4 separate regions of the Homo sapiens genome follow, and all the other regions are linked to region 4. Evidence: promoter capture Hi-C in human tissues and cell types (Jung and others, 2019). All regions are on one chromosome and are shown on one strand. The core of a region is centred on a gene start or on the middle of the fragment in contact, and the rest is flanking DNA. Distances in the headings are between cores, read along the strand shown.

The links. The method cuts DNA at HindIII sites, captures the fragments that hold promoters and counts their contacts. A contact is called where the count stands out against the background at its distance.
Region 1: a contact is called between a fragment that was not itself captured here and the fragment with the promoter of HSD17B2 in region 4, in 1 of the 25 tissues and cell types used here (dorsolateral prefrontal cortex).
Region 2: a fragment that was not itself captured here is called in contact with the fragment with the promoter of HSD17B2 in region 4 in 1 of the 25 tissues and cell types used here (dorsolateral prefrontal cortex).
Region 3: a fragment that was not itself captured here is called in contact with the fragment with the promoter of HSD17B2 in region 4 in 1 of the 25 tissues and cell types used here (mesenchymal stem cells).

Annotation. Positions count from the first base shown.
Region 1 is chr16:83,130,538-83,133,738 of GRCh38, forward strand. All of the region lies in intron 4 of CDH13 (cadherin 13), which reads left to right. Among named protein-coding and RNA genes, the nearest start is that of CDH13-AS1, 270 kb to the right of the region's middle. The HindIII fragment of the contact is 4,415 bases long and covers 1-3,201 here.
Region 2 is chr16:83,458,080-83,461,593 of GRCh38, forward strand. The region is part of intron 6 of CDH13 (cadherin 13); the gene reads left to right. Among named protein-coding and RNA genes, the nearest start is that of MIR3182, 49 kb to the right of the region's middle. RefSeq lists an enhancer at 596-765. The HindIII fragment of the contact is 4,801 bases long and covers 1-3,514 here.
Region 3 is chr16:83,441,413-83,444,750 of GRCh38, forward strand. All of the region lies in intron 6 of CDH13 (cadherin 13), which reads left to right. Among named protein-coding and RNA genes, the nearest start is that of CDH13-AS1, 44 kb to the left of the region's middle. The HindIII fragment of the contact is 3,864 bases long and covers 1-3,338 here.
Region 4 is chr16:82,033,018-82,036,565 of GRCh38, forward strand. HSD17B2 (hydroxysteroid 17-beta dehydrogenase 2) reads left to right here and starts at 2,236. Exons shown (of 5, transcript NM_002153.3): 1 at 2,236-2,672. The coding sequence starts at 2,408. The HindIII fragment of the contact is 4,836 bases long and covers 1-3,548 here.

The DNA of each region.
Region 1 (3,201 bases), core at 326-2,825, 1.1 Mb after region 4:
TCTGATATGTGATAAAGGAAGTATATTAAAATGTTAGTGGTAGAATATAAGTTGGTGAACATATGGGTACTTGCTGTACAATTCTTTCGAGTTTTCTCTGCATTTGGAAGTTTTGTAATAAAATGTTGGGAAAAATTAAGTTTAACTAAATATAAAATTATCATAAAAGACACAGGAGTTAGCATGCTGGCACAAAAACGCCTTTTAAATCATTTGTCTTGCATTTCAAGAGGGTGAATGGAGACAAAGTACGTAACTGGTTCTTGATTTTTTTGGTCATATTTTATTACAACCTGAATTCCTGTAAAGAAAGGAGACTCATATCCTGAAGAATGAAGACATCAAAAGCAAGGTGCTGTGGCAAGTTAGCCCTTGGTGGAGGGTTTTTCACAACTGGATATCCTGCTGTGTAGAACTGAATACCCACAGCAGGGTTATTCAGGCAGCTCCAGGGATGAGAGAAAGTGTCTTGACTGATACATAATTTATCTGTCTGCCAAGTAATTAGTTGGTTGGTAAGTAGCTAAACTACTAGAATTTGGGATCTGCTTTTCCGTAATACGAGGGAATCATATTACAACCCTGAGATTCCAAATCACTGCTACTCACTTAGATAGCAGGTGGGGAGTATAAGGGGGTGTATGACCCCCCCCCCCCCCCCCCCGCCCACAGACACACACAGGAGACAACCCGAGAGATCACTGCCAGCCCTGGGAAAATGAGTTTGCCTCCTAATTTCTGGCTCTTTTCCATGGTGCATTCTGCCCTAGACTATCTGTCATAGTTTTGGAAGACAAGGTAAAACACCCAGTCGTGAACATACTTGCTCATACCTGTGATTTTCTTTCCATTTTTGAACTCTAGACAGCAGGGAGGAGCTGACAGTGAGTGCTCTGGAGAGGAACATGCAGATCCCAAAGTGGCTTTTTCCCCTCCCCCTTCAAAGTATGACTATTTCAAAATTTGGGCCATAAATAATTTCTCAGTTTTACCAACTTTCACTGATAACTAATTGATTGCATCTTTAAAGATTTTTGAGTTCTTGGGCCCGATTGATTGAGAGCAGGGGACTTTAAATCTGTAAGCCAGCAGGGAGGTCTTTGGGAGATGTATTTTATTCTGTTTTATATTAAGTTTGAAAGACAAGTCATTTATGAAATGCTTATTAGAGATTCTGCTTTCATCACAAACCCTTTTCATCAAAACCAATGAAAGTACTTTTTTACAGAAAATCCTGTTTTAAAGACCCTATAAATTGGTAGAATGGGCATTTAGAAGGCCATCTTTAACCCAGGATAGAAGAAATATGTAACTGGGCCAAGTGCTGTTTGTAAAGGGAATCAACATTGATCATTAGACTAAATCATGAAAACCACTCAACCAGGACTCCGCTTTGATTGTGTCATGAACGTAAGTCAGACATGACGGTAATTTACATCAGCTTTGCCATGTTCCTCAGTGTTCTGTGCATCTGATTCTTAGAGGTCTCACTGCATCCAGATACTCTGTACCTGAGATTTATGCCCACCTATGCGAATAGGTGCCAAGGAGTCTGATAGTCTTGGAATTTAATTTGTTTTATTCTATTTAATAGCCATTTGCCTCACTTTGAAGACCCACGAAGACCAAGCTATATCCTTAGAGGCTGAACCAGAAAGCTGGTACTGAAGCCCCAGCACCTCTCCATCACCCCTCTCCTGAAATGCAGACTCAGGGTTACTTGCTGTTGCCTGATTGATTTTATGATCAGGCACTTACTGGGTTGTCTAGGGTAACCCAGTAATTGCTGTCATCCCTCTACCTCTTTTAAAATCTATTGTTTTGTGCCCTTTATCTATGTCTAACTATATACACTTTTCTCAGAAATTTACATCTGCTTAATTTCTACCCCCCACCCACCCCCCAACACCCCCCCCTTTTTTTTTTTTTGAGACAGAGTCTTTCTCTGTCACCAGGCTGGAGTGCATTGGTGCAATCTCTGCTCACTGCAACGTCCGCCTCCCAGCTTCAAGCAATTCTCCTGCTCAGCCTCCCTAACTGGGACTACAGGTGGATGCCACCACGCCCAGCTAATTTTTGTATTTTTTTAGTAGAGACAGGGTTTCACCATGTTGGCCAGACTCATCTGGATCCATCTGCCTCGGCCTCCCAAAGGGTGGGGATTACAAGCATGAGCACCTGGCCTTAATTTCCCCCTTTTAAGGCAACTAGCAGTTTTATTCAATAACTGAAACTTACCATAGGCTAGAGTATAGGAGAAAAATTGGAATACAGAGTATCTAAGATGCCTAAAGGCTCAGTGCTCAAAAATTCTTCTTGAGATGAACATCACAGTTTATTTCTACATTCAGCAGCCATAGCTACACATAAGCCTTTCCTATTTCCAAGTCTTTGAACTGTCAGTTCTTCCTGGGATACACCCTCTGTATCCTTATTCCTTAGGAGCAGCCCACATTCACACTCTAAGGCTGCACTGTCCCATGGAACATTGACATTATTGCAGGAAGTTCTGCCTCTACACAGCCCAATATGGTACCCACTAACCACATGTGGTCAATGCAGTTATAAAGTCTTTACTAATTTTAATTGGGGCTCAAAAAGTAACACTTCATTCCATTATTGGGACAACTTGGCAGTTGAATGTACCTTTTTCCTGATACATTTTAATCTATTTACAGATAAAATATTTTTTACTGAAAACGCAATGTCCACACTGAGATGTTTTGTAAGCGTAAAATACACATTGGATTTCAAAAGCTTATCACACGAACACAAAAAGAATGGAAAATGTCTCCTTAATAATCTTTGTATTGATTTCATTTGGAAACAAATCCCTTGTATTTCTTTTCACTTTTTTTTTAACGTGGCTGCCAGAAAAGTATTAAATTATTAATATGGCTCACGTATTTTTATCAGATGGTGCTAATGTAAATAAGGCCTATTTTTGATACAGTCTCTCCTCAGTGGAATTATGTTTTTGAGACAGAGTCTTGCTCTGTCACCCACACTGGAATGCAGTGGCGTGATCTGTGCTCACTGCAACCTCTGCCTCCGGGGTTCAAGAGATTCTCATGCCTCAGCCTCCCTAATAGCTGAGATTACAGGTATGCACCACCATGCCTGGCCAACTTTTGTATTTTTGGTAGAGATGGGGGTTCACCATATTGGTCAGGCTGGTCTCAAACTCCTGGCCTCAAGTGA
Region 2 (3,514 bases), core at 142-2,641, 1.4 Mb after region 4:
TTACAGACAGAACGCTCCTAACAGAGAGCTTCCAAGAAACCCCAGGGCTTTCCTCGTCTGCTGGGACGTCTCTGTCTTCCTGTGCCTGCTCCTGCTGGATCCAGGATCCCAGGCTGGCTCCAACTCAAGATCTGCTGTTTCTCCTGTACTTGACACCTGGTTCTTTGGGCTGTTCCTTTGTTGATCTGTTATTGTTTACTTTTTAGTCGCCTTTGAATTACCAAACTAAGTCATTCTTGTAGCAAAATCTCAAGCACAGAAATGACTACATTAAAATGAGCCTTCCACCTCTCCTAATTCCTCCCCAACACTTCCCAACATCATCGCCATTAACAACTGTGTGTAGTCCTCTTATATTTTCCTTTCCTTAAATATAACTACATATCTACAGACAGGTCTTTGTTTTGATATGATTTTACAAACCTATGGAGTTATAGAATGGAGTTCATCTTATAACTCATCTCCCCCCACTACAAAAAATCTTGTGGTCATCTTTCCATGACAATACAAATTCTTACTATTTTTTCATAGCTATGGTAGCCTTGTAACTTATTTACTGATTTCCCTTTTTCAGCCATCTTCCTGTTGTTTTGCAAACCCAGGCCACCCAGCAACAATCTTCTTTATATACTGTCTTTTCATACTGACACTTCTCAGTCCTGTTGGATGAATTCCCAATGGTGCGATTGCTCATTTCTGACATTCTGTCTGCTGATCGTGGGCCACAGCACCGGTTGTCTCTTTCTCTGACTCAACCCAAGTCTGATGAGATTTCAGTTTCACTGCAGCATTGCAGCAATGAGAAAACATCCCATCATGCACTGCTTCTAGATATTGTCAAGAGAAGGGTATATTATTATGCAAAAGCAGTGTCTATTTACAGATGATGAAACGACAATTTTTCATGGGGTTTTTCTTTTTATTTAACATCTTAACTGTCAATTCCAACAAACACACTTGTTTTCCTCTATGACTAATCTAAGAACCAAGATGGCCAACAGCACAATACCAACTTTTTGTTTGTTTGGTTTTTAAATATGGCAAAATTATATATGAGCTTCCCATTTTACAGGTTTCTAAGAACATCTTAATGAAAATAACAGAACTCAGAAAATCCACTGTCATTTTGTCCAGAAATATTTTGTTAGCATTGGGATGCAGCAATGCCATTGACAAGAAACCCATGTGGACCACCTTTTAATGCTTAATGAGCCTTTCTTCCTAGCATGCATTCCAGTGGGAGAGAGGACAGAATAAACGTGATTAAATTATCGGACAGAAACACATGACTATAAATAATTGACTCTCCCATGTTTCATGAGCCTTAACCTCACACTTCAGAATGTTTATTTCCTTTATTTCAAAATGTTTGTTTACTTTTCTCCATGGACTTTAATTAATTTTGCCTTTGGCTTATAAACGGGTGAAACTAAAAACTTTTTTATTTGCATTTTTATCTTGAAGCAAGCTAACTAATTAAACTTTGCAATTTGGTTTCACTGTGCTGTACCAGAGCCATAGGAAAATGGCTGACAGATTCGCAGATTTGTGACCGTTTTTCTAATGAAGGAGATTTTGGAAATTTTGATGGTTTCATGTAAATGCTAAAGGTAAAACCTGTATTAAGAGTCACTTGATCACAGGAAGAAAAATAACCAAATGACTCAACTGCATAAGGAGGTGAAAGGAAGGATCTAGAAACTACATACCAGTAAACGTCCCCTGAGTACCACAAAAAGTGTAGAATGGAGTATGAGCATTGTAGTTTTCAATAGTGTTACTCAACTGGTAGAAAAGAGGAATGCCCAAGGCATAATTCACATAGATTTCAGTCTGATATGCAACAGGTTCTTCCATGAGATGTGAGGGCTTAAAAGAAAAGGTAGAGATTGAAGACGTTATCTTTTAAAAGATACTCACAGCACATTTAATTGATAGGGGATCAGTAACAAGATTATATAAAGAACTTCTAAACTCAATAAGATAGCAAAAAAAAGTAAAAAATAACTAAGAGATAAAAACAGTCATTTCACAGAATAAGAAAAATGACTAATGTATAAAAAACTGTTCACACTCATTGGCCATTGCTAAAATTCCAGTAACAATTAGATGTATTTATATAATTTTATGTCTTCCTGATTGGTAAATATTAAGCCTAGAAATGCCAAGCTTTGGCAATAACAGGAAAACAGAGACCCTCGCTGACTGCTGTTCAGAGAGTAAATTTGTACAACAACTTTGAAGAACAGTTTGTCATTATCTACCAAAGTGGAAGATGTGTAACCTATCCCTAAGATAATCTCTGCAAGGAATTCTCATTTATGCCCCTGGGCACAGAGACAAGAACACTCCTAGAAGCATTTCTAGCAATAGCAAAATAGGAAATGGCCTACATGCTCATTGATGGAAGCATAGCTCCGTACCCGGCAGTGTGTACGTCTGATGAACTGCAGCAAGGATGGTGGATCTCCAGGACATGCATATGTGGAAAACACAGTCTGCAGAAAAATACAAACAGATGATTTCATTTATATAGAGTTCAAAAAAACAGGAAAAACTATTAGGTTTAGAAACAGATAAGAAGTAAAACTATGAAGCAAAACAATGAATAATAGATTTAAAATTGCAGATAGCCTGAGTGCAGTGGCTTGCACCTGTAAACCCAGCATTTTGGGAGGCCGAGGCGGGAGGATTGCTTTAGCCTAGGATTTTGTCCAAGATCAGCCTGGGCAACATAGCGAGATGTTGTCTCTACAAATAATTAAAAAAAAAAAAAAAGTTGGGCATGGCGGCCCATGCCTATGGTCCTAGCTGCTTGGGATGCTTAAGCCTGGGCAGTCGAGGTTGCTGTGATCACTCCACTGCACTCCAGCCTGGGTGACAGAATTAGACCTTGTCTCAAAACACACACACACGCACACACACACACACACACACACACAGAACAAACACTGCAGATAGCCATTTTCCTAAGAGGAAAGGTAGCAGGCTAAGATCATGGAGGAACACACAGGAGCTGCAGTGGTATCGTAATGTGATATTTCTTAAGCTGGGTGGTGGATACAAGTGTTGACTGTACTATTTATTATACCTTGCTATATGTTGTATATGCATGTGTGTATATAGGTACATATACACATACATGTATATGTACATATTCCTATTTATATATAAAATATATAGCTTTTAATGGAAAAGAGGAAGTATCAGCTATGTAACATTTATCAGGCATGAATCTTATCTCATTCAACATTTTTATCAATAATTTATTAAAATCTGGCTCATCCAGAGCAGGTGAGGGATGATGATGATTGAATCAGGTTTTCTGAAAGGCATGGACAAGCTCCAGCCATGAACTGATTATTTAATGGAACAGAGGTGAAGATGAAATCTTCCCCTTGAGATTCTTAAAAACCAGTTCACTAAATTGAGGTGAGACCCCCGCCTTTGTTAAACAGCAATTCATGCACAAACAATATTGGGGTCTTAGTTGACAAGTTCAAAAGGAGCCTTC
Region 3 (3,338 bases), core at 666-3,165, 1.4 Mb after region 4:
AACTTATGTTCCTACCAAATATTAACAGTGACTTTCCCCGATTGGTAGAATTAGGGATGGTTTTAATTTTCCCAATTTTTGGTCAGTGATATTTTCTTAATGTTTAAAAAGGAACATTAACAGTTTTTATGATAAATGAGGAAAGTTTCTTTACAACATTTTTTTGCATGCCATTCCTTAGAGTTGGGCAGCTTTTGCAAGCTGTGAGAAGCCCAGCTCCTGCTTTTCCTGATACGGTTTATGACTCACAGCTGCCACCAAGATGTCAGTTAGCTCTGTGACAGTGAAATGACTTCATTTCCCTGAACCCGGATAGAAACGGTGTCTGGGAAGAGAGAGAGTACCTGGTGGAGCCCTATGAGTAAATGTGATGATGATTCAGCTCTGGACCCTATACTCTACTCCAAAAGGAAATGTTTCAGGGCATCAGAGGGCATGAATTCATGAATGTGTATACGAGGCTTTGTTCAGGATATTTTTAAATATAGAAGTTCATTGATACAACATCCCTATGAGGTAGGGATTATTAAGAGGGCTTTATCTATAAGGAGGCTGGGATTGAGAGGGTTTGAATGATTTGGCCCAGGTCACACCATAAGAGCTGGGAGCGAGATGACAGAGTCTTTTTTGTCCACAAGCAAAATAGCCATGCCTGTACTTGCAGTCGGACCGGAGGAACACACAGGCCAACTCTGACGCAAAGCATGGTTATCACCATGCTCCTCCAATGCCACCTGCGTCTTAGCTCTGGGTTTATTATTCACTGAGTGCCTTAATGGGCACCTATCGTTTATTTTCCCTGGGCCTCAGTTACCTCATCCGTAAAATGAGACAAGAAGGTATTTGAGGTAGATGAACTTCAGGATCCCATCAGCCTTGACGAGTGCAGGATTCTATGTGAATCTAGATGAGATTTATCCAAGGACCTCCACATCCTGCCTCCCACCTCCATGAGCAGCTATTCCAAAGCTACCAGTCTGGTGATTCAGCCAAAGACCCATCATTAAAGAGCACAAAGACATCCTTGGCCAGTATCTTTCTGGATGCTGATGCTTTTCTCCTGAATTGCATGTCACCTTGGAGAACTCAGTGATGGATGAGAGAGATCCAGCTTTGACCTGGAAAACTTTCACATTGCAAGTTTTTTTTTTCTTTTTCTTTATAGATTTATAGTCAATACTTCAGCCTTTCTATGACAAGAAGCTTATATTTTTCTGGACTAGATGTAACAAACGACTTTCCAAGTGATCAGTGACATCCCAAGTTAGGGCTGCATTTTGAAATTGTTCTTTAGAATCTCTAACTTCATTGGGAACAGTGATATCAGAATGTTACCTTAATACTCTGCCAGAAAGGCATGGAGAAGATGTAAAATGTTTATAAATGAACATCCAGTGATGTGCACTTGGTAATTTCATTCAAAGATGTAAAGGAAGAGATACTATAAGGGACATTTCTGTTATTTTGTCAAATGCTATTATTTACTGAAAAATAAAATTTCACCCTATATGCTTGACCTTCAGGGACTTATTTTAAGATCATATGGCTTTTCCTAAACAGCTGAATTATTTAGTGAGATTGAACTCTCAAAGACTTTAAAATAAAGCCCACCAAAATACCAGCCACTCTGCAGTGCTACAGCTGTTCAGACCTCAATCTGCATATTTCATCTCAGCAGACTGAAGTTTGCAACTGAAAAATCGCTCAGAAAATACTTATCACCTTCCATGCCAAACGCAGAAAGGAATTTATTTGAAGCTGAGAATGTGATAGGGTGGGTGACTTACTCCCACAGTGATGCTTAGAATGGTGGATGGAGTTCTAGCTGCGTTTTTGCTGCTTCACCCCTGGGGAGGCCACGCCTCTGAGAAAGAGGCTGGGAGGCCCTTCCGCAACAGGTGTTCAGGTATGAGTGAAAGAATCTAAGGAGTGAGCTTGGAGCACTGCACCCACAGACAGGACCATCATTAGGAGCACATTCTCAGTGCGTGTTGAATGTTACGAAAAGGTTTGATTTATACATTTTTGACCTAAATAGAATTTAATCAAAATGTCTAGAGAATTTTTACGGGTTACTAGCCCCTCACTTTTTCTGAAGTACTAAAAGCAGAATCAGGAATTCAAGATTATCATGTTGAGTATAAAGCACTCTAGTCTTCCTAAAGGAATCAGTGTCAGACTGGGCTGGTGGTTCACACCTGTAATCCCAGCACTTAGGCAGGCTGAGGCAGGAGGACCACTTGAGCCTGGGAATTTGAGGCCAGCCTGGGCAACAGAGTGCGAAGTCCCTACGAAAAAAAAAAAAAAAAAAAAAAAAAAAAAAATATATATATATATATATATATATATATGGAGAGAAAGAGAGAGCGAGAGCAAGCCAGGCTTGGTGGCATGTGCCTGTAGTCCCAGCTACTCAGGAGGCTGAGGTGGGAGGATCATTTGAGCCCAGGAGGTTGAGACTGCAGTGAGCCAAGACTGCACCACTGCACTCCAGCCTGGGCAACAGAGGAAACCGTTTCTAAAAAAAAAAAAAAATCAATGGTACCTCCTATAGAGTCAGGTGATGGTGTTGATTATGATGATGATGGCAAAGACGGTGGTGAAGGTGATGGCGATGATCATGGTGATGATGATGGGCTGATGATGACTGTGATGATCATCATGGCAAAGATGACAATAGTGAGGTTGATGATGGTGAAGATACCAATAGCAACAATGAAGATGTGGCTGCTGATGTGACAAAGATGATGATGGTGATGGTGATGATGGCAACAGTGATGACAATGATGATGATGATAATGATGACCATAGTAATGATGATGATGATGACGATGATGGTAGAGGCTTACATTGATTGAACCCTTGCTAGGTAACAGATATGTTAAGCACTTAAGCCCTGAGTGTTCATTATCTTATTTAATCTTCAGCACCATCACATGAAGTACATGCTGTGATTTTCCCATTTTAAAGATATTGAAACTGAAGTTTAAACTCGGTAAGGAACTTGCTCAAGGACAATACTTCTTAAATTTTGCTATACATTAGAATCACCTGGAAAGATTTTTTAAAATCTTGACCCAGAGGTTGAGTAATGTGCTCAAGGGCACCCACCTGATGAGTGGCAGAACCAGGCTTTACAACCCAGTCACTGAGCACCAGAACCATGTCCTCTCTTGTGAAGAGCCAGTCATAGTGCCCAAGGAATTTTCAGGGCCATCATTGCTCATGTCCCTCCGGTGATGCTGTTTTTAATAATAGTAACTGGCGAGCTGGAGTATAATGTTTTGGGTAGCATGGCAGATCTTTGTGGGGCAGTGTGCTGAAACCAGCTTAAATCT
Region 4 (3,548 bases), core at 986-3,485:
TCAGGGCTCAGGGAGTATCCTTCATGGGACTTCTGTGTGGCCTGAGGGTGGCTTTTGCTCATAGATTTTACCCTCCCCTTGGGAGCCCCAGGACAGAGTAGGTCTGGGAACTCGCAAGGGCTGCCTCCAGGAGAAAAGCCACCTCTCTCAAGTGGGCGTGCACTTGGCAGGAAGCCTGCGCAGGTGTTTGGCTCAGCCCAAATGTGGGAGCCACTGACCAAATGCCAAGACTCTCAGCGAAGAGCCATAGCTAGTCCTGTCTCCCCACCTGGAAGCTGTTTTTCGAACGGAGCTAACTGCCAGGATGCTCTGGGCTGGTGAGGCCACAAGGATTGTGAGAGGTGCCCTGTGGCTCAGATGGCACCCAGGAAGGAATTGGGGTCTGTTGAGGGAGGGAGAGTTCAGGGCTAGCCAAAGGCAATTCCAGATCCCTGCCCCTAAGCTTCCTGGCCTGGAGCTGGTAACGTCTCCCTGACTCAAATGTCCATGTGGCTGGGAGGGCAGACAACAGTTGCCATCACTCCACGCAGACCCTCATAACTGCCTTGTTGTCCAACCCCACAGTCCCACAGCACAGTAATGGTTCACAAGACACTGCTTCCCACCCCTTCTCCCTTGGGTCTTGAGTTGGCTTTGAGCCCAGGTGGGCTCTGCCTCACCTCCCTTTACAGGGGATACGCTGCTGGGTCCCTTCCTTCCCGAGTCCTGCCTCCCCAACATCATCCACAAAAGGCATCCTCTCCCTTCCTCCTCCTGCCCCTCATTTAACTCCAGCACGTGTTTTGAGACAAGTCTATACTCCACTGGACACTTTGTTTTACACGACTTCCTCTTATTCTTCATTCTCCTCCTGTTTAAAAAACATGAATCACTAGCATTTATGAGGTTCCTTCTACTGTTCCAGGCAGGATATGATATTATTTTATAGCCAAAGGGATGAAGATCTAGGGAGGTGAAGTGACCCTCCCAAGACTATGTAATTAATAAGTAGTGGAGTTAAGATTAGATTTGAATAGAGGGAAACTGACCTCAAATAGAGAATGTTTCTCTCTAGCTATGCCAAAGTCCAGCCTTTATCACAACCTTGCCTCCCTCCAGCCAGGCATGTGGCCCACATGGGGCACGCCCTGAGCCCAGGTGCGGTGACCCCTCTCTGGCTTAGCACGGTTAGGTGGTGCTGTAGTTGCAGAGTGCTGGCTTTTAAGCCGCTTGTGAGTAAGGGATTTATTTTTTCCCAGCCTCAGTTTTTCTCTCTGTAAACTGACCATAATAATAACACCCACCTCAAACAGTTTTATAAGGTTGAAATGGGGTGAAAGTAGGAAAGATCTAGCACATAATGCACTAATTTTTTTTTTTTTTTTTGCCTAAAGCAGGCAGTGGAATAGAATGCTTAGGGGCATACAGCTCTGAGATCAGGCTGCAAGACTCCACTGCTGTGTGATCTTGACTAAGTCTCTTACCCTCTCTGTGTCCTGGTTTCCTCACCTGTAAAATTACTATAATACTAGAATCAACTTCATAAGGATATTGTATTCAAGGAGGATGAGAGGAGTCCCAGTGAATGGAGGCTGGCATAGAATAGGCTTACAATAAAGAGAAAGAACAAATAAGCAGCTATACACAGCCTCTGCCACAAAAAACTACCAATAGATATTAGCCGCTATTAGTTAATTGTCATTATTATCTCTCCCTGGCATGTTTCCACTCAGGCAAGACCAAAGCACTTTCCTCTACCAAGGAATATCTTCCTCTACTTTCATATCCCTCTCCATCCAACCCTTCAGCCTGCCTCAGTTGGGATTTGTAGGAGTCCTGAAGCTATGGACCAGATCAGAGGTGCCTTCCCTTCCAGAATCTATTTTCCAAACTTCATCGATTGCCTATATTTATATGCATGCATGCACACACACGCACACACACACACACACTCTCACTCACTCCCGAGTCAGAAAAAGGACTCAGCACCCAGACATACTGCAGGCTCTTGAAGAAGACAGTATTTTCCTGTGAGCTAGAGGATCTTCCTGTTATTCTCCATGCAGTTCAAATTCTGTCAATTATTATCCAGTTAGTCATCGCTCCAGAGGTGGACTGTCATTAAAAAAAAATAGAAGGTGTGTGTTTGTGGGTGAGTATGTGCATGTGTTGTGTATGCAGGGGGTGGGGAGGGGCGAGAGCGGTCAAATAGGAAGTGCCTTGGTATTTATGTTGAAGTGCACACTGGTTTAAATTACCCACTGGGAATATGATTATGCTTAATCTATGCTCAGTTGAAAGGGGCTGGGGCTGCTTTCTCCCCTCCCTTCTTGACTCTCTGTTCACAGAACTCAGGCTGCCTCCAGCCAGCCTTTGCCCGCTAGACTCACTGGCCCTGAGCACTTGAAGGTGCAGCAAGTCACTGAGAATGAGCACTTTCTTCTCGGACACAGCATGGATCTGCCTGGCTGTCCCCACAGTACTATGTGGGACAGTATTTTGCAAATACAAGAAGAGCTCAGGGCAGCTGTGGAGCTGGATGGTCTGCCTGGCAGGCCTCTGTGCAGTCTGCCTGCTCATCCTGTCCCCTTTTTGGGGCTTGATCCTCTTCTCGGTGTCATGCTTCCTCATGTATACTTACTTATCTGGCCAAGAATTGTTACCTGTGGATCAGAAGGCAGTCCTGGTGACAGGTAAGCAGACGGTGCTACAATTTTCACTGAGGGTATGATCTGAAACTTGCTTTGCCTTAGCAGGACTTTGTCAAATCTGGCTTAAAAATAAAATACTTGGCATGGAGTAAATGAAAGCCCTCACCCAAGTATTTTTCATGACACTGTTTTCGTTCCGTTTTTTCCAGGAGGTGCATTTGAAGGGGCTGGTAGTGGGAGGGAAGGAGAGGATGAAGTGCACCCAGACAATGATTTTGTTAAAATTTCCCAGGAATAAATATTAATAGGCAAAATGGCAATATTTCATGTGTTCTATTGTACCCAGGAATGTCCCATAGATTGTTTTTTAGGCTTAAATGGACTTTTGTTCTGACATCATTGTTTGGCCAGGTTCTCCACCTGGACTCTTCTTCCCTAGGTATGCAAGAACGCTTACAAGCCAAGTTCTACTTGTCCCTTGCTGTTTTGAAATATTGAAGGGATTCACTTACCTGGGCTGGAGACTTTGCAGTTTGCTTGGCTGCTGTCAAGAACCTTGTGTCCTGTCTGAACTGTTCCTCATTAGACCTCTAATGTTTCTTAATTGGACCAACTTGGCATCGTGTCCAACATTCAGTTGCCTGTTAGCTGAGCTGCCAGTTTTTCCCTTGTTTGTGTGTGTGTGTGTGTGTGTGTGTGTGTGTGTGTGTGTGTGTTTCCCCATTGCAAGTGTGAGGCCAAATTAAATTTCTTTGAGTTGTAAAATTTTTGCTTGGTTATGGAGTTTAAGCTTGGATAGGGCTGTAATTAGGATTATCCAGCGTTATCCTAACCCAGAAAGCCCTACCAAATAAAAAAAAAATCAGCTGTGGAATCATTTGGGGGAGATCATCACCCCTCTGACCATGATCCTCAGGG